Linked DNA regions of Homo sapiens: regions 2, 3, 4 and 5 are each linked to region 1. Evidence: promoter capture Hi-C in 16 types of primary human blood cells and fetal thymus (Javierre and others, 2016). All regions are on one chromosome and are shown on one strand. The core of a region is centred on a gene start or on the middle of the fragment in contact, and the rest is flanking DNA. Distances in the headings are between cores, read along the strand shown.

Evidence for each region. The method cuts DNA at HindIII sites, captures the fragments that hold promoters and counts their contacts. A CHiCAGO score of 5 or more calls a contact.
Region 2: a fragment that was not itself captured here is called in contact with the fragment with the promoter of TNFSF8 in region 1 in 10 of 17 cell types (total B cells, activated CD4 T cells, monocytes and 7 more); the score reaches 9.7 in total B cells.
Region 3: a fragment that was not itself captured here is called in contact with the fragment with the promoter of TNFSF8 in region 1 in 3 of 17 cell types (activated CD4 T cells, naive B cells and monocytes); the score reaches 7.8 in activated CD4 T cells.
Region 4: a fragment that was not itself captured here is called in contact with the fragment with the promoter of TNFSF8 in region 1 in 1 of 17 cell types (monocytes); the score reaches 5.3 in monocytes.
Region 5: a fragment that was not itself captured here is called in contact with the fragment with the promoter of TNFSF8 in region 1 in 14 of 17 cell types (activated CD4 T cells, monocytes, naive CD8 T cells and 11 more); the score reaches 27.2 in activated CD4 T cells.

The regions. Positions count from the first base shown.
Region 1 is chr9:114,928,488-114,932,526 of GRCh38, forward strand. It overlaps TNFSF8 (TNF superfamily member 8), which reads right to left and starts at 2,104. Exons shown (of 4, transcript NM_001244.4): 1 at 1,622-2,104. The coding sequence starts at 1,816. RefSeq lists an enhancer at 1,198-1,757. The HindIII fragment of the contact is 2,687 bases long and covers 926-3,612 here.
Region 2 is chr9:114,808,008-114,812,046 of GRCh38, forward strand. No RefSeq gene overlaps it. Among named protein-coding and RNA genes, the nearest start is that of TNFSF15, 4.0 kb to the left of the region's middle. The HindIII fragment of the contact is 2,743 bases long and covers 906-3,648 here.
Region 3 is chr9:114,827,419-114,831,457 of GRCh38, forward strand. No RefSeq gene overlaps it. Among named protein-coding and RNA genes, the nearest start is that of TNFSF15, 23 kb to the left of the region's middle. The HindIII fragment of the contact is 1,805 bases long and covers 1,223-3,027 here.
Region 4 is chr9:115,031,051-115,035,089 of GRCh38, forward strand. It overlaps TNC (tenascin C), which reads right to left. Exons shown (of 28, transcript NM_002160.4): 23 at 503-635. Among named protein-coding and RNA genes, the nearest start is that of TNC, 85 kb to the right of the region's middle. The HindIII fragment of the contact is 1,485 bases long and covers 1,494-2,978 here.
Region 5 is chr9:115,013,267-115,017,305 of GRCh38, forward strand. No RefSeq gene overlaps it. Among named protein-coding and RNA genes, the nearest start is that of TNFSF8, 85 kb to the left of the region's middle. RefSeq lists an enhancer at 825-1,014. The HindIII fragment of the contact is 6,629 bases long and covers 1-4,039 here.

The DNA.
Region 1 (4,039 bases), core at 854-3,353:
CTTTATATATCACCATCGCCACCCATTTTTCCACCATCTCTCTCTCTCTCTCAGCAGTTCTAGTTGGATCCTTTAACTAAAGAACTTCTTAAAGGACACTTCAATTTCTTTTCTTTGGCCATTGCTATAAAATGACATACCCTTGGTTCACTCCAAATTAGAATTACAGAAATTGCAGAGCCCCTGCAGAAGAAAAGATGTCCTAAAGTGTTTTCAAGATTATTATACTTAATAGATGTAGATAAGCCATTAAATTATGAGTTTTAAGAATTCCACTATCTAAATCAAATATTTGCAACTCCTTCTTTTCACTTTTGTAGAGATATGAGCTTCAAAGCTTCCATTTAATTTCAAAGCTTGATGACACTTGAGAAATAGATATCAAAGCCTTTTAAAGCCTAGTTCTTTCCAGCAATTGATAAGCTATAGAGTACTTGGCCTAAGAAAACTGAAGAAAAACCAGAATAAATTCAGCAGGATTATAATACCACGAAAAGTAGGCACTATGAAGTAAGAAACAGAAATATTCTCACTTTGGCAGGTCATGTGGGTGGGTGCAGCTCTTAAATTACCCATTAACAACTTCATCAAAAAATTCATGAGCAATATATGCTATTACTACAGCATTTTCTATATAATATATACTGGTAGATTCTCTGTAAACACCAATTTTCTAAAATATGAAGAAGCTTCCTCTTTCTCCTCCTCTTCTGTTTTCAGAAACAAATCTTACCATTTACTTCAAAGTAAATCTCCGAAGACAGTCTGACCCTGTACAGTGTGTACCCAACGATTGCTTAGTATTGTGAGGAACATCAGAGAGAACAGGTGCTAAAAACCTTTCAACTTTCTGCTTCTATGTGCTGTTTCTTTTTTTTTTTTTTTTGTGACGCCCTAACTTCTTCAAAGTTGTGGCTTAAGAGGAAGCTTTCGATTTGTCTTGCTGGCTTTAACACCAAAATGTCCAAAGCTCTAAGAAGCCATGGTCTTCTCTTTCGCCTCCTTTCCTTCTAGACCTTGGCCTCTGAAACTTAGCTCCTTGTATAAAACAAAAGCAAAAACAAAACTCTTGGCAATGGGTGAGGCCTCAGAAACCTCCAGGACACTCAGACTTAGGATATAGAACCTCAGAATCCAGTCTGAAGTCCTTGAAGACATGATAACAACTTGTGCAAATGTGTTATCAGGTTTCTCTATTGCTTCCTTCCTTGATATGGGTCTCTGGCTCATTAAGATTTAAATCTTAACTTTAAAAGGCCAATAGCTCCCCTCCACTGTTTTGCTCAGACAGATCTGCAAAGTTTTAAGATGATGGTCTAACAATATTTTTCTCAACAAGCCAAATTATTTTAGAGAGTTAAGTTCCTCTTTCTTTTCTCCCTTTCTCATATATATATATATATATAATATATACTGTATAATATAATATATATTATGTAACATAAGTGTATTACGTTATACAGTATATACTATAGTATATATATATATATAGAGAGAGAGAGTTTATTTATTTAATTTTATTTTGTGCTCTTAACCAACAAACGAATATCATTTGTTCCCAGGGCTCTTTCTCTCGGGAAAACAACAAGAAAAGGAAAGGGAGGAAGAGGAGTCCACTTACCGTCCTCTGAACGACCAACACCATAATAGTGGCCACCGTGAAGACAAGGCACAGAGCCAGAGTGGCTGTGGTCAAATAGAAATAGCTGCGGCTCGTGGTCCCCAGGTGGCTGGCCACGGAGCCCGCCGGCACATGCATGGCTGTGTCTCCAGGAGGGGCCATTCCGTTGAGTGCTTGCTGCAGCCCTGGGTCCATTCTTTATATAGTCTTCCCCACATCACACCTTATCTCTCTTCATCTGATTCAGTTCTGGGCCCATCTCTGTTCCAAGAAGGATTCTCCCCCTGAATCCTGAATCATGTGACTTGGAAAAAAACCTTCACCTGCTGCCTGGTGGAGAAACTCTTCTCTGGGGGCGTGAGGCGAGAGGCGGCAGCAAGGGTGGGGGAGAGGTTCATTTTTCATTGCCAGGGATTAAGTTGTGTGCAGAGAAACTAGCTACAGAGAAGGTGGCTGATGTCAGAGGGCGCGTAGGAAAATGACGGTTCCCCGACTGTGTGTGTGTATGTGTGTGTGTGTGTGTGTGTGTGTGCATGCGTGCGCACACACAAAGCAACTTCTGTTTCGTTTAGACTCTGCCACAAAACGCCTTCCTGTTCAAGAAGCTGCACCTTCTTTCAGCGAGGCCTGTGGCTCAGAAGACCTCCCCAGATAATGAGTCCTTGCTGGGTCTCAGGGAGGCCGGATCCCTCGGACTGCAGTGTAATAACTCCAAAGGGTTCGGTTTGATAGGCTACTGCTGAAAAAGGGACATGCTGCAGGTTCCCTGGGGGAAAAAGGGCACACAAATGGAGATATTTCTCCAAAGGGGGACTGGCTCATGGCAGTATGAAATTTGGGGTTCAAAGATACTGTCAGAAAGCAGGAATCTGGAAATATCAATCTTTTGAACAAACACTCCTGCAGAAGTTTTGGGATCTGTTAAACTGGCAGATGAACCTGGACCTGCCGTAAAACTCATGAAGAGGGGAAGGAATTGGCAGTGAGATGGTGTGGTGTGGAATATGGGGGCTGTGTGTGTTCTGCGTGGTGTACTATGTAGTGTGTGTGTATTTGTGGTATGGGGGTATGTGTAGGTGTTGTGTGTTCTCTATGGTATATGTATGCAGTGTGTGTGTGGTGTGCATTTGTGATCTGCAATGCATGCCGAGTGTGGTGCGTATGTAAGTGTTGTGTGTGGTGTGTATGTATGTGTTGTGTGTGGTGTGTTGTGTCTTGTGTATGTATGTGTTGTGTGTGTATGTGACTACTATAATTGAACCTCTACTGTCTCAGGCACAGCGCTAGGAGTTACATGTGGCTTCATTCCACTTCCACCTCCACCCTCCGAGGCAGGCAATGTTTATTTTTTACAGATGGGAAAACTGAGGCTCAGGGAGGATGAAAACTATCTCAACCTAAGTCGCAAGTGTCGATCACTGAAAGAACTTGGGTGCACTTTGCAGCCTGCCTGGCTGAAAGCTCGTGCTAAGTCATTCAATCTTCACTGCACCTGAAAGCTAAAACCTGAAGTGTGGTCTCAGCCCTTTCCCTTCTTAGCCTTGGGCCATCATACAAGTCTTTATGGCTTTCTCTGTTCCCAATCTGCATTACAGTCATCAGGAAGACCAAGCGAGATGATGTCAGAGTACTCCATGAATAAAAATAGATTTGGGGATGGTGTTGGACAATTCCTGTTAAACATCCCAAGCTGTCTACTGGGCTAAGTCTGGAATTTAGATACAATAGACAGATTACCTGGGGGACAGAGTCAGATCACATCTGTGGTTACTAATGATCTCCATTTCAAAATACCGTTTAAAATGTTAATCACTGCATAGCTGCTGCCTCCAGATGTGGGCCTTTGAAAGCTCCATTTGGTATCACCGTGGAAGAAGCTCATTCTGCATAGCACCTCCTTTCCTTTCTGCTCACTTTTTGTCTGCAGCGCATCACTTTGAGCCAGCAGAGATCCCAGATGCCCCTAAGGAAACGTCCTGTGTCTAAAGCCAAGCTTGGATTATTACCACTGCTGTTCTTGCATAGAACCAAAACTTCTGAGCATCTCCCAAATTAGATCAGGCTTTAGGATTTGGTCTGGATATTTCCTCCCAGTGAGTCTGTAAAAGCATAGATCCTGGAGACGAAAGAGACATCAAGAGATAAATTGTTTTCTTGGGCTAAATAGAGTGGGGGGCGATATACCCATTTTACAATCAAGGAAACCGAGGCCCCCGTGATCCCAATTGAGTTTGGTTTTGAAAACAGTGTGTTCACGTTCGTTTGGTCCGGTAATTAAGGTGGGAACGAGGCAAGCCAGTGTTTTCTGGGGCATGTACCTGGCTGATTTGGGGAGAAGGCTGTGTCCTCTGGTGGGCACGGACAGTGAGTGGGTAGCAAGGGCTCTGTGGTCTGCCCAGAGTTGCTGAGAACCAGCTG
Region 2 (4,039 bases), core at 1,027-3,526, 120 kb before region 1:
AAAGGATGATTTTGATGTCCCATGGTTACTCATTCTGGATTGAACAAATCTATTAAGAAACATCTTTGAGATTAACCTAAATCTTTGCTATTGTAACTTAACCTTTCTTTTGATGACTGAGTAGCATTCTATGGTACGGATATACAACAGTTTGTTTAATCATTCGCCCACTGAAGGACATTTGGGTTATTTCCAGTTTTGAGTTATTATGAATAATGCTGTTGTGAATATTTGTGTACAGATTATTTTGTGTGAACATGTTTTCACTTTTTCTGGTATAAATGCCCAAAGTGAAATTGTTGGCTGTATGGTAAACAAATGTTTAATTTCCCATGGTAAAATTAACTGCCATGGTAAAAACATACCATGTTTTTTACCATGGTATGTTTTTACCATGGCAGTTACCTATAAAATTTAAGCAGTTGCCTAAATATAGCAGTTATCTACAATTAATTCTGTAGGTAACTGTATGGCAGTTACCTACAACCAGAGTGGTTGTATCATTTTACTTCCCACAAGTAATGTGTGAAAGGTCCAGCATCCTCTCTGTATCCTCTCTCCAGCATTTGGTGCCTTTACTATATTTTGCTTTTGCCGTTCTGATAAGTGTGTGGTCGTATCTCACTGTGGTTTTAATTTGCATTCCCCTAATGGCTAATCATGTTGAACATCTTTTCACATACTTATTTGCCATCTGTATAACTTCTTTGATAATACAGAGATCTATTTTGGCTGCCAGGAGGTACTTCTTTTTTCCTTCTTGAATCTCAGTGGATTCAAAGGCAAAAAGTAAATCACTTAACAGATAAATGATGAGTTATCGCACTTGAGTATGTGCAAGATAGTGTTCTAGGTACTGGGGATAAAACAGTGAAAAGAACAGACAAAACCTCCTGCTTTCATGAAGCTTATATTCTGGTGGGGGGAGACGGCCAGTAATTAAAACAAATAAGTTAATTTATAGTACATTAGATGGCCTTAAGTGATTTAGAAAAAAAAAAGAGATAAATGATCTTAATTGCAATTGAAAATAGAGTTGTCAGAATAGACCTCATTGAGAGGAGACATATGAATGAAGACTTGAAGAGGGTGGGGGAGGACGTGGAGGTGTCTGGAGGAAGAGAGCCTGGCATTGAAGCCAGTGTACATGGTGTATTTACAGAGCAGCAAGGTGGCCAGGTCAGCTGGGGCAGTGGGTGAGGGGGAGTGGGGGGACCACAAGGTCAGAGTGATGGAGGAGGCTGACCGTGTGTGTCCTCCTGGGTCCAGGTAGGACTTGGCTTCTTCTTCACTGAGTTTGATGGGAAGAGAGGTGGTGGTGAGTGGAGTAGGGGTTCTTTGGAAGGTGATGGGCGGAGAGGTGGCAGGCTCTGATTTTACTTTGAAAAGATCATCCTGTTTGCTGTGTTGAGAACAGCCTGAAGTCTGGGAGACCCATTTGGAGACCACTGCAATCATCCAGGAGAGGCAGGATGGTGGCTTGGATGAGGTGATGACAATGAGGGTCACAAGAAATAGTGGATCCTGGATATATTAATATTTTAAACTAGAGCAGACATAATTTCTTATTATGCTAGATGTGGAGTGAGAGAGAAAGAGAAGAGAAAAGTCTGAGTCAAGGGCTTTTTGTTTGAGCGTGGGGTGCGTAAAGACATCTTTAATGGAGGCAGGGCAGGCTTTGGCTAGATGCTTGAGAGCGGAGATTGAGATAAATAAAGTAAGGGGACTTTTAGATGACCAAGCGGAGGCAATTAATAGGTAGATGAACGGTTATTTGGGGCTTCCAGGCAGAGGCTTGCATGGAGATACTAATTTGAGAGTCATGCTTGACACGGCACCTACCACACAGTTAATACTCAAAGTGGAGGGTCTCCATAAGATTACAGGCCGTCAAATCCTGTATCTCAAGTCCTTGGAGCCAGGTTTCAAAAAGCATTAAGTTGAACCATCTGAAATTGCATATATCTGGTCATTTTTGACCTGCAATAATAATAGTTTTATATGGTTGTCCTGAGTAACCTATTACACATACCTTATATTTCATAACACTTTTGGTGGGGTCTGAAACAACACCTAATAATCAAATACAGAAAGAATTCTGCAGCCCAACATACTCATACTGAATGTGATAGGTAACAATTCCCAACAACACATGCCCTTTCAGGTCAGCTTTTGCTGCCAAATGCTTTCAGTTTTTAGATATTTTTGGATTTTGTTTACGGACTGGTATTATTATCACTGTTGCTGTTATTATTGTTACCATTCTGTATGGCATTCAGGGGGTTGAACTAGGCAATAAGTAGAAGTTACTGAAAGGCAAACTTTGGCTCAATTTGAAGACTTTGTCAATACTGTCCAAAGATAAATCATGTTGCTTCCAGAGGTGGGGGCTCTCTGTTTCAACGATAAGGACAGGACCTGAATGGCCACTGATTGAGAATATTTTAGAGGAAATTTGATTATTGGAGAAATGATTGGAGTTGATGTCTTTTATAGCTTTTGCTCCTACTGAGACAAGATGACTCTACATTTTTTCTACTTTTCAGGCCTTCTTCTCTTCATGTGTTAAATGGGGACAGGGAGCTTTGTGATTGCTAAGGATGCTTCTACCATTAACGTTTTCAGGGTCTCGTGATTCCCTGTGTCTTCTCTCTGCTTGTTGGTTGTTCCTTCCACCCATCTCTGCACATCTTTGCTTACATCCTTGTTTGCTAATAAATACATTTTTCAGAATGTCCCATAGCAATTTCCTCATGATGTGCAAATGAGGGATTAGCAAGGGCAGCTGAGTTGGGTCAGCAGATGTTTTCTCTGTTGCTTGAGTTAGTAAAAAAAGTTCATTTTTCAGCAATTACTTCTAGATAGGTTTTGGACTTGAGCAATATCCACAGCCTTTCTGCAAGGGTGCTTATTTGGGCATAGCCCTACTTTCCTGGACTGGCATCGATGGTTGGCAAGACCTCCCCCCATCTGGTTCTCTTGGGAAAAGAGCTATTTGATGAAATAGAAATTTTCAGTGGCTAACTCACTGTCTTCTAAGTGGCAACAGAAAAAGTGCAAACATTTTGAATAGAAACCTTTCTGAAATACAGTTTAAACTTTTAAAACAGTTTTTTTATGATTATAAAAGTAACATTTTAACTTTAGAAAACTAAAGAAACGGAAGACAATTGAGTCTTCTGCACTTATTGAATCACAAAGAGCAATGTTATTCCTATGCGGAATATGCCCTGAAAATCAGGCTTTGAGAAATCTTTCTTCTTTTCCTTTCTTCTTAATCATTTTCTTTCTTCCTGCTTTGCTTAAATCTAGCTTCCCTTTGGATTAATAAAAATTCTCAAGAGGGTGACAGCCAACTATTTCACTTACAGGCATATACCCGAAAGAAACCCTCACATATGTTCAACAGGAGGTATGTATGAGGAACAAGGAGCTTAACCGTAGCACCGTCATCACAGTGGCACAAACCTGGATGCACACCAGATGCCTGTCATCAGGCAGGCAGCAAATAAACTGTGGTGAGCCACACAATAGGGCATTGTTCAGCCATCCAGATAAAGGATCAACAGCAACATGCCTCAATGCGGATGAATCTTAACACAATAATATTAAGTGAAGATGCAAATTTCCAAAGATTTTATATAACAAAGCTTACATAAAGTTAAAAATAACATGTGTGCATTTGTGGTACACACACACATATGGACATATATACATACCACTCATTGAAATGGAGAGCAAAGCAAAGATGAATACAGGACTCTGGGTGATGGATACCCTGAGCAGGGGGATCAGAGGGTGGATTGGCAAAGGGTTTCATATGGTGTCATTTGATGCCGCATCCAGGCCCTAGCTTTCATTTTATGTCATGGGTTACTAGGTACTTATAACATTGCAACTAATTAACTAGCTGACTTAATAAAAGAAGTCCAGGCACGAACCTTGATGACAATGTGACATAATCTGAGGATGATGATTATTCCAATTCTGTGTATCTGAGATCCAAAAACAGAAAAGAAATGGGAGTCAGTGGGCACTG
Region 3 (4,039 bases), core at 875-3,374, 100 kb before region 1:
CAGTAAATGAAGGCATGAAAAAGGCAAGCCATCACCTTGATTGAAATTGATTTTCAGTTTTTCTCATTTGAGGCCCAATAGTATTTCAAGCTGCATGTCAAACAGAGACGGAAACACGGTAGAGCTCAAGAAGGATTTTTGTCAAAATGGAGCTCTGGTAGCCAGGTAAATCCAATGCCAACAGTACAGTTGAGATAGCTCCATTCATGGAGAAGCCCATAGTGGGGAGGAGGGGCACAAGGTGGAGTCTGAGAAAACTGGAATCTATTCTTGGCGGTAGGGATGATGTCAAAGCATGAATACAAGCATAAACTCATGATCATTAGAATGTATGATCACAGTCACTAGGATGTACATGGGAGCTGTTAAGAAATAAGGAAGAAACTGCTGCAGTGAGTGTGACCAAAGGGTTGGAAAAACATTGAGGCAATGACTTTAAATGCAATGGGCTGTGTACTACCCTCTGTTACCTCCACTTCCCTTATCCTCCTCCTACTCCAAACCTCTTCTTCCCAGTTTCTTCCATTGTCCTTTATCTAAACTGACTACCTCCTTCCTCCTTCCTTCCCCACTTAGATCTTCCTCACTCCAGGTTTCTGTCTCATTCCCCCCATGGAAGCCATGCCTTACATTTTTATAATGGTTGGCAGTTCACAATGCCAGCTGGAATACATTATCTCATCAACCTCATAACCACACTTGTAGGTAGGTGCTGTCCCCATTCTGCAGATGATGAAAACGAGCCTAAGGGAGATGAAGTCACTGGCCTAAAGTCACATAGCCATGTGGGGGCAGAGGCACAATGATGGCCCATGGTTTTTTCTCCATTCACCTCTCCAACTTTACAGATTAAGTCCCTGGCATTCCAGTGTGCTGACTTGCACTAGATTTGCCCTGAATGTTGAAAATCAAGTGATCCCCTCCTTTAAGGACCCCAAGGTGGCTACTTTCTCTAGGAGGGATTTTTAGTCAAAAGAGGATTTGTCTCCCTGAACGTTGTCTTGAATTCTGGGGAAGTCCCATCCTAAGTCATTGGAATCTTTTAATGCCCAAGCCCGTTGCCTATGTTCAAACTCCATTCTGATGATACTGATACTGTGGGTACAAATCAGCAGGCTAGAATCAGCAGCGAGCTGGAGCCCACATATACTGGCTTGTTGGTTAAATTTTCAGGAATTTTTTGAGCTGGCTGTTAAACACAACCATTACTGAAAATTATTTAAGCTTATAATCAAGTGAATTATATTGAAAACAAAGGTAAGGGATATTCAAAACTCATTACTTCTCATTTTGCTAGACTTTACTATTACTGTAATTAATGTACTCTTGAAGTTATTCCTATGTATTGTATCCGAAAGAGGAAAATGCCATGTAATGCTCTGCTGTTGCTCATCTCTTTCCCACTCTGTGTTTAGTGACATCACATTGGCAGCTTGAAATTTGCCACAGAGAGAATATTTACACCATGGAAATCAGCAAAAGTTACAAATCAAGGTCCTCTTTCTCCTTCATTAAACATTTACCAGCCAACCATGGGCTAAGATACATCAAGGTTTATGGTAATTGGGCCTCTAGACTCCTGAATGCCAAGGCTGGTTCTCCTTCATGCCAGCATGAACTTGGGCAGAAGGCAGAATGGTGTCTAGAGAATGGAGATAATAGAAATCAGGAGGTAACTCACTGCTTGTCCTCTCTTCCTCCACCTTGGTAGTGATGACAATACCAGCAATGATATAGGACACTTAAGACCATTATGGACCAGGTGATGTATTAGGCATTTTACTTACCCTGTCTGTTAAAGTCTCACACAAACCATATAAGACATTATTGTTCCCATTTTACAGGTGGAAATCTGAAGCTCTGAGAGGTGGAATGAGTTGCCTGAATTTACCAGAATGTGGGATTTACCAGAATGTTTACCAGAACGAATTTACCAGTCAGGCTTTGAGGCCAGATCTGTCTGATCCAAAATCAGTGCTCTTTCTGAAATGCTGATGCAAAAGGAAGTCATCAGAACTCTATAGACCAACCCTGCACATTTGTTACCTTCTCCAGAAGTGCTTTCGTTGCTGATATACCAGACGTCTTTTGTTAAAATTAATCTACTACCATCACCGTATGGGGAATAACTCTGGCTAGCCTAAGAAAAGCAACCTTACATAGGTAAAAATAATTGCACCCCTTCCATCTGCCAAAAGAGTTCTATTGTCGGTTTCCCAGGCAATATATGTGCTTTGGGAAATATTGCCATTAGACAATCTGAGTGTGGTTGCAGTAAAGTATTCTAGAATGACTGGAATACCCAGCAAACTGGGTAAGAATCATGTGTTCTGCTGTCAGCAGACCTTGTCTGGGCCTGGCAAACTCTGCCTCTGGGGTTAGCAAAACTCCCTTACGCTCCCCTCTTTCAAACAAGAGTGATTATCAGTTGTCAAAGTTGTTACTTCTGCAGAGAAGGAAAAGTGGTTCTGGACACTGTCCACAGATTGTTTCCTCCTCTGGGGCAAGAGGATTGGGAGAGGGGTATGCACATGCTTTTCTCAATTTGTGGTTTTTGCTTGGGTTTGTGGTTTAAATCCCTAATTTTGGCAATCATCTCTGCCACAGACCATCCAATCCATGCAGGTGGGTTCATTCCATACTCTGTGAAATATATTTTGATGTTAGAGGGGTGGGAATGTCTGATTTATTGTTTCATCCTCGTCTCTGGGGAGGGGAAGCAAAGCTAGTAGTAGTTTTTTTTTCAAGGGCAATCTCAGGCCATTCTAGAATGCTTCATTGCAGCCACACTCTGATTGCCTAATGGCAATATTTCCTGAAGGCTATATTTTGCCTGGGAAACAGACAGTAGAACTCTTTTGGCAGATGGAAGGGGTGCAGTTATTTCAATCTATGTAAGGTTGATTTCCTGAGGCTAGCTGGAGTTATTCCCCATATTGTGATGGTAGTAGAAACCTCTTGAAAAGGCTGGAAGCCTACAGAGGAAAGTCCCTTGGGAAACCTGATTGTTGAATGTGTCTGACCATAAGCTTATTCAAATATGGATGTTTTTCAGTTATCGGAAGATTTGGGCTTTCCAGGTCTGCCTTCTTTCTTGCTCTTGATGTTTGTAAGGGAGGTAGGTATTGATTGTACTTGAAAAGTATGCCCAGAAGATGGCATTCATTCCAGTGGGATGGTGAGAGAATGACACATTGGCACTAGAAAATGCCAGGCTGGGAATCTAGAAATGAAACAAAGGAAAGCACCCTGCAGAGCTGGCGAGGTGTGAGTATGGAGAGTCCCCACCTGGCAGGGAAGGGCTGCAGAAGCAGATGTGATCTGAGCCAACCTGGTTTTCCTCCTCAGTCTGCCTTCTCCCTTCCATTAGGGACATGGCTAGATCCTCCCTGATAAGAGCCCCTAAAAGAGGTCCTGTTTTAGTAATCTAGGCCAATTAAGCTGTTTCCTCAAGCTAGAACTACATGCAGAGAGTGGCAGTGCTTGTGTTCTGCAGACTTCTTAACCTTTTTGTTGCTCTTGACTGCATCCACAACTTTGGAAATCCCTCTTTCCTTGGCTTCCACAAGCAGATCCCAACTCTTCTCCATCAGAGAGAGTTTTACTATTAATATTATACAATTCTACTGCCCAACAAAACTCAGTATATTTACTTATTTATTTGACACATTGTAATTGAACACATTTATAGAAATGCCATTTGATGCTTTGACACATATCTATGTTGTATAATGATCCAAATAGAGTAGTTAGTGTATCCATCTCCTCATGCATTTATCATTTGTGGTGAGGATATTCAAAAGCTTTTCTTTTAGCTATTTCATATTATACAATATTTTACTGTTAACCATAGTCTCCCATAGCTGTGCAATAGAACACCAGAATTTATCCCTCCTATCTAATTGTAACTTTGTACCCATTGACAAACTTCTCCCCCGTCTCATCCTCCTTTTCATCCCCATTCTCTGGTAACCATTGTTCTACTGTATGATTCTATGATACCAATATATATATTTTTAGATTCCACATATCAGTGCAA
Region 4 (4,039 bases), core at 986-3,485, 100 kb after region 1:
TGGTGGGAAGATCATTTGTGATTTTGAATGTGGACAGGTTTTGTAAACACTGGCATGATGAAGGAGAAAGAAAGAGACTTTCAGCTCATGTTGAACTCTGACAATAAAAGGACCACACAATTATATGGGCCACATACTGGGCTAGGAGTTCAAATGCAATACCTCATGAACACTTGCAAGGTCCTGGTGACAGAGGATTTATTATTAATCTCCCTGTATAGACGAAGAAGCTAAAGATTATAGGATGGAAGTAGCATTCTTAAGGCACACCTAGCAGGTGATAGAAATGGGGACTGAATCCAGATGGGCTTCCTCCTTTCCTTTCACCGGGATGCTCATAATCTCCCACATTTGCTTTCCTCAGGCTTCCAAGTAGTAGCAGTGAATCGATTCTTTTCAGAGGTTTGTTTGAAAATTTTAAAGTAGAAGTCAAAGGGGAAGTCAAGGGTTGATTCAGTCAAAGTTAGATCTCAAGGCTGGATGGCACCCTGGGCCTCCTTACTTGTGGTGAAGATGGTCTGGATCATATTGCTCCTCAGGGGCCCATTGAGTGCCTGGATCTTGGCTGTGTAGTGGGTGGATGGGCTCAGGTCTGCCAGGCTGTAGGAGGTGGTATCTGGACCCACAATGACTTCCTAAGAGCAGAAGAAAAAGTATAATGGCTTTTGGTCACAGAAATTCTCAGGGTATAGATAAGAAGTCATTCTATTTATAAGTTCATTTACCCATCCATTCACTTACTTACTGGACAAGAATTCATTGAGTACCCACTCTCTACCAGGCTCCATGTGCACTGCTGAGATATCAGAGATGGGGAGAGTACAGCACAAGCAAAGGTCCTTGGGCCAGAAGGTGCAGAGCAAGTTAAAATAATATAAGGAGGGAGAGACCGCATCTGGTAAGGATGAGAGCACTGCTGTAGACTCCAGGGCTAAGGCTACCACCTGCCCAAGGCCCTGCCAAACTATATTGGGAGAATGGGATTGTAATGGTTAATTTTATGTGTTAAATTGGCTGAGCCATGGGGCCCAGATATTTGGTCAAATATTATTCTATGTTTCTGTGAAGGGGGTTTTTTTTTGGATGAGATTAATATTTAAATCAGTAAACTTTGAATAAAGCAGATTTAAAACATAAAATGAAATAATATAAGGAGGCAATAAGCGACCTCAACCATACTTAGCTTCAGGTGTTAGAACAGTGGAAAATGTTACTAGATTATGAAGGGCCTTTAAATGACAAGCTTTGAAACTTAAAGTTTATCATTAAACGGAGTGAGGAGCCCTGTAAGGTATAAATGCTAAGCTTTGGAACTTGAAGTTTATCATCACAAGAAATGGGGAGCCTTGAAAGATGTTTGGACATGCCAATGACATAAACCAAGCTGTGCTTTAAGAAGCTTAATCTGGTAGCAAGATGAATCACACAGGGTAAGGGACTTTGAGGTCAGTTAGGTCAGTGGTCCCTAAATATAGCTCTTTATCACTCTCAGAAGCTTTAAAACAATATGATGCCTGGGCCTCATCTCAGACTGATGGAATCATCAGAGCCAGAAGTTGGGCCTGGCTATATTTAAGAAACTTCCCAAGTGATTTGAATGTGCAGTCAGTTTGGGGATCTCTTGAGTTAGGAGATGATTATAATAGCCCCATAGGCATGGTAGGATTAAAACTTAAGCTGACCTCACATGTCTCTCTTCTAGAACAGAGATATCCATGACAGACAGATGTTGACCAACTCTAACTACACTTGTAGTCTGTGGCTGGTCTCTGTGCTGCTGTACAGAGGAGGTCATTGGTTTCAGTTTGCAGGAAATCCTCTTTCCACACCCTCTTGCTAGCTTCCAATTCTTTTCAGCAAATGACCTTAGTGTCTGGGATTGGAATTCAACCTACACTCCTAGTAAACCAAGCACAACGATCTTCTCTACAACCTGCAAACAGCCAGCTTAGTTTGGGCAGTCATGCATCAGTGCAGAAGCCCCTGGAAGGTTCTCCTGCATCCTGGGAACTGGGAAGGTACCTTATCCTGTTTTCTTCAATGGGAGAATTGAGTTTCAGAGAAGCTAAAAGACTTGCTCTCATTCCATAAATTGTTGGAGGCAGAGGATGATCTTGCATGCGGGTTTCCCAACACCCTGTCCAGGACTCTTTTCTCCTATACCAGGTTGATTTTTTTTCTAAGACATGTAAAGCTGGTGAATGGACATGCAGAAAAGTAAACTGGGATGAGTGCTCATTTAATACCCAGAGGCCTTTTTGCAGCCCCCCAGTTCTAGTCCCTGGGGGAAAGATCAACTGTCAGGGATAAAGCTGGGTTCATTGAATTACTTAGGAATACAATTACCTGTCAGTTCTCTAGGCTTCTGTGCAAAGCCATTTTCTAGGCAATTAGGGTACTCTAGATCAAAATGAGACTCATGATTCAGGTAAACACAGAATCCTAGAATGCCTGACAAGGAGAAGACCTTAAAGATGGATAAGTCCAAGGCATTCATTTTACAGATGGGAACACTGACACCCAGAGAAGATAAAGGATTTGCTTCAGCTCACACAGTGAGATAGTTCATTGTTATATCAATTCCAGGAAGGGGCATGATAGTTATTAGCAATGTGTCCAGTTCTGGTTAAATATGACAGATTGGATACAGCCACTCATCTCTACTTGCTTCTAAAACCCACTAAAAAGAGAGCAAGAGAATGTAAGGTATAAATCCATGAAGATGAGGGGAATGGGAGAGGAGACAGCAACAGGTGTGCCAGAAACTTGGTAGATAGAAAGTGAGTGGTAGAGAGACCATGGAGGGGAATGAATGAAGAAGGCTGAGGTTAACTAAGGAGCATGGGCAGAGCTAGTCAGAGGCTGCTTGGTGCAAGTCACAGAGTCCAGCAAGTTCAGTAAAGGAATGTGTACAAAAGCAGAGATGTCTTTAAAGGCCAATGTGGAGTGTGGTTGAACAAAGGTTTGGTTTGTTTAGAAGCTTTTTTGTAAGAAACAGACTCTAAGATCTCCTCATTCCCTCCAACAGTCTAAATGACTGCCCTTTCCCATTCAGATGGTAGGCTGAGGTTTACTCTCTGGAAAGGTTGAGCCAGAGAGGAAGTCCGGATTCAAATCCACCAGGCTCAGCCTTCAAGGAGGCCGAGGTGCTACACTGGAAACATAATAAGATGAAAGTTTGTACACAGTGAGAGGCCAGGTTTTATGGCACTGTTATTTGGGGGTCCCCCAAGAAAACTGTGGGTACTTGCCCAATCATTCTGCAGGGAGCCACAAAGTTGACAAGCCCTGCCTGAGCTAACTCCCTATTAGCTCTTTCATTCCTAGTTCAAATACAAAAAGACAGACCATGATCAACAGACATTGGGTGGATGTCTCCAACATGAAAGACAGAAACCCAAACCAAACCAAACTCAACAACAGCAGCAAAACAAAGAAACTTGTAACAAACACTGTGCAGGATATAGAATAAAATACCAGCAACATATTCTTAGAGATAAAGAGATGATGATATAGGAAGCACAAACAAAATGCCAGAAAAAGATCAATGTGTGGAGAACAAGCAAAAGATCTTGGAAATATAAAGTGAGATAACCAAAATGAAAAATTCAATAACAAGTTTGGAAGGTAAAGTTTAGGAAATCTCCTTCGCTTGTTTGAAGATCTAAAGTTATTTCAAATTAAAAGGTAAAAGAAAGAAAATTCTTGGGTAGCGAATATAAATAATATAAACACTGGATAAAAATGGTATTAACAGTTGATATCATAAGAACACGGTGAAACATATTACAATATATAATATAAAGATACCATCTGTGAGATAATACATATGGCAAACATGCAGAGAAACCTTTTGGCCTTTGTTCAACAAAATATTAAAGGATCAAGATTCCAGCTCCTAAAATGTCCTCAAGTCTTGTAAGCAGTGGTTCTTGATCTTGGCTGCCTATCAGAACTGGAGTCTGGTTAAAATGAAAGAGGCTGGAGAGTATGATTCAGAAGGTCTGGCATGCCATCCAGTCTCTACTAATTTTTTTTT
Region 5 (4,039 bases), core at 953-3,452, 85 kb after region 1:
AGTATCATGAGAGGGGGGTTGAGGTCAGGGAATATAGGCCTTGAAGGCTACTGTGATGTCTCAGGCTACTTTCCTCTGAGCCGTAAGGCCGGCATTGGAGGGGTTCAGCAGTGGAGTAGTAGACCACAGCTCAGTGTTCCTACAGGACCGCTCTACAGCTCTTTGGGGTCATAGACTGGCTCTAGGAGGCAAGTGCTGGGGACACAAGGCCCTTGACTTTATTCTCAACATTGCCCAAGCTGCTTAGAATAATCCACAGGGATCATCACCTAAACCAGGCTTCAGAGATGTAAAGGAAAACAACAGCAACAGCAACAGCAACAGGAACAAGTCCACATTTTTAGATGTGCCTCACCCTGTGCTAGTGAGTTAAGTGTCAGGGCAGGAGGATCAAAGCCTTCTTGCTAAGGGGCCAGAAACAAGCCAAAGGGACAAGCACAGAACAACAAAAAATGTGCATGTTGGGCCTTCACAACCAACAATACGGTGCTGTCAAATCAGGTGAATGAGTGATGGGACATGGATACAATGGAGGCATTAAACATGTTAGACAACGGTTGGTGGTCCTTGCCAAACCTGAATGGAGACTGGACAAAGGCCAGAAACTCCCTGTGTCTCATGTTCCTGTCCCCCCACCCCAGTGTACACCTGCAAGAGGTGATCAGTGAGGTGGTAGGGTGAGGGTGCTCGTTTTTGTGTAGCAGATGGGGAGTCAAGAACATAAAAGGAGGCCTGCCAAGTTCCTTCCCACTTCTGGGAAGGGTTCTAGCCTCTTATTGAGAGAAGGATTAGCATGAAGGCAAAGTTGTTTACCTAAAGATGTCTATGAGCCTAAGAAGTCCGGTAGACATCAGCCCCATCCACTTCAACACATCTACCAGGAGTGCCTGGTTAGTGCCCTCCCGAAGCCAGGTGGAGGCTGCCATCTGCTGGTTGACTTGAGGATTTTTACCCAAATGTTTAGTTTGCCTTTCAATTTTTAGTGAGACAAACCTGTGTTGACAGCATTTTCTCCAGGCAAGATGCTGTCGGTTTTCTCTTTTAAACTATCACAGATTCTCATCAGGGTAGGTACACTTCATGATCATTTTGATGGATGCTCAGAAGAATTAAGCAATTAGACCAAGATGATCCAGTAATTGGAAAACATGGGATTTGAGCTCAGCTCTCACTAAAAAGATGGTGACTGTAAAGAAATTGTTATAAACACGTTGGCTTTGCAAACTGTAAAGTGTTATGAGGGAACCAGTAAATGGCAGGTGCTCCAAGTGTCCTAATTGGAAGAGTGAATGAAAGAATAATTGTGCAGAAGGATGTTCCTTAAGGCATTGTGACTCAAGGAGTCAGAGAACCCAGCTTTGACACTTGGAGGCTGAGTGAACTTGGGGGAAGTCATTTCACTACTCTGAGAAACAATTTCTTAACCTGTAATTGCAAATGTGCTGGGCAAATGTGCTAGGCAAATGTGGGAGCTGTTTTTTTTTTTTTTTTTCTTGACAGAGTCTCGTTCTGTTGCCCAGGTTGGAGTGCAGTGGTGCTATCTCGGCTCACTGCAACCTCTGCCTCTTGGGTTCAAGCGATTCTCCTGCCTCACCCTCCTGAGTAGCTGGGATTACAGGCATGCGCCACCATGCCCAGCTAATTTTTGTATTTTTAGTAGAGATGGGGTTTCACCATGTTGGCCAGACTGGTCTCGAACTCCTGACCTCAAATGATCCGCCCACCCCAGCCTCCCAAAGTGCTGGGATTACAGGCGTGAGGTACTGCGCCCAGTCGGAGCTGCTTATTTTGACTGCATGTGTGTGGTTTTATTTTCCTGTAAAATGTTGAAATCCATGTTACATCCTGGTGGGATTGAAACAATTCTCAAGAAAGCCTTTTTCTACTTCCTTTACAGAGATTGTAATTCCTCTGGGAGTTCCCTAGGGAGGGAGGAGGATGAGGGGAGTGAGCCCTCTGCTGGTTGCTTATATGTCCTGCCAGCCCAAACCTGGGCAGCAGGCACATGCAGGGCACCCCTGGTACCCCATTGAGGCTGGGGGGCACAGGTGGCCAGGGGCACATGCATCTCTAGTGAGGAAGCAGGCTTTCTAAAGAGCAATGTTGATGATGCCATCTGGGGCTGAAAACCCTTGGCAACTCTCAGCTGGGCTCCAGGACGCCAAGCCTTCAAGGCAAGGGTCTACCTCCATCCTCACCTCTGCTCCCCACACTGTCATCCCTTGTGTCCATCCACAAGCCTCCCCTTGGCCTTACCACTGGTCTTCATTTCTAGCTGCAGTCACCTTGAGGGAGGCTTCCTGATTCCTTCCCCACCCTAACCTAGTGCTCCAGGAGTTAATGGGCCCCTGAATCCAGTCTCCCATATCCCTAACTAGCCTGCCTTAATTAAAACTGATGCCCACATCCAGGAAAAATCCACTATAGGAGTTGAGGGCTGCTCAGGAACAAGGGTGGGGACATAGAGAGCTCTCTGGGACCCTAAGCCCCATGAATTTTACTTTCTAAATATCTCTTAGAACCATAGCTCTGTCTCCACGACACCACACTTAGCCAGGCTCTATCACCTTTCACCTGGATTCCTACAGTAGCCTCCTCAAAGGTCTCTTCCCACTTTGCACCTCCCAGCCAAAATCCAAATGCAACAAAAAAGATGGCTTAAAAAAACAGATGTGATCACAATGCTCTCCTGCTGAAAACTTCTCAGTTGCTTTCCATTGAACTGAAGAAAAAAAGCAAAATTTTTATTCTGGACCAGGAAGATCTGCGTGGCTGGGTTCCTACTGACTCCTGAAACCTCATCTTCCACAATGCATCTTTTGCACCTATGCCTCTGGCTTTCTCTGTGCACAGCGTGACAGCCATAGGACTATAGAGATACCTGCCTTTTGCCTTCTGCCTCTCCTGCTTCCTTCACCTGGTTAACTCCTACTTGCTCTTTGGATCTGGGTTCAAATGTCTGTTCCTCAGAGAGCCTTCCCCCTCAGATCCCCTTTAGACGTCTTCATAGCTTTTTATATTTGCTTCCAAAGCACAGCCCTCAGTTTGTAATCACACATTTGCTTGTCTGATCATGTGTTTGTCACTGACCTCTCTGGGGCACAGAGGCTGCATGGAGGCAGGGAATGTGGTTGTTTCACTCACATAGTGCTGAGCATAAGCGGGGAGGTGCTCAACACTGATTTTTAAATGAAAAGAGAAGTGAGAATCTTAGAAGGAGACCGACGAGGACAGCCCACAAGGAGCTCTCGGATTTTCCGGGCTTAGGCAAGGCATGGTGGGAAGACCAGCTTGGGTGGGGCAAGCTGAGAATGGGGAAGGACTGGGCTGTGTAGCCAGCTGTTTTGAGAGCATACAGGTCATAGGAGGCTCAGTGAGGAAGAACCTGCAAGGTGTGTCTCTCCTTCTGGAGAACAGACAGTCATGCCACACTGCAGAGGAGTATGCAGCCTGGATTTTCATCAGAATCTCCTGCCTGGTTGCTGTGGTGCCTGGGATGATCCCCAGCCTCCTCTGGACTGCTGCTTCCCCATCTTCAGAAGGAAAGAGATGAGCACGAATTCAATGCAACAAATATTCATTGAGCTCATCTTCTGTGCCTCCTGAGGGTTTCTCACAGGCCCACCCTGTGTGACCACCCTACTTTGAATACTGTGACCCTATCCCCTTACCCTAGTCCCCTTTGTCCTTATTACCCTTGAATATACCATTTAATTTGATCATTTATTACATTCATCATTCATTGTGTTTTGTTAGAATATAAACGCTATGACCACAGGGATATTTTCCTCTTTTTTTCACTGACAAATCCACACGGGAGGTGCTCCACAAGCATTTGTGAAAAGAATGAAGTTCTGTTTTCCAGTTAGTGTGGCTTGTTGAAAGGAATAAGATATCTTCACTGAAAAGAACTTGGATTTTGGAATCAGGCAGCCTGGCTGTGAATCTTGGTCTGACCCCAGTGGCATGGCTGCGAGAAGCCACCTGACCCCTCTGAGGCCTAGTTTTCTACATGACATGGAATAGTTCGATTTGTCTC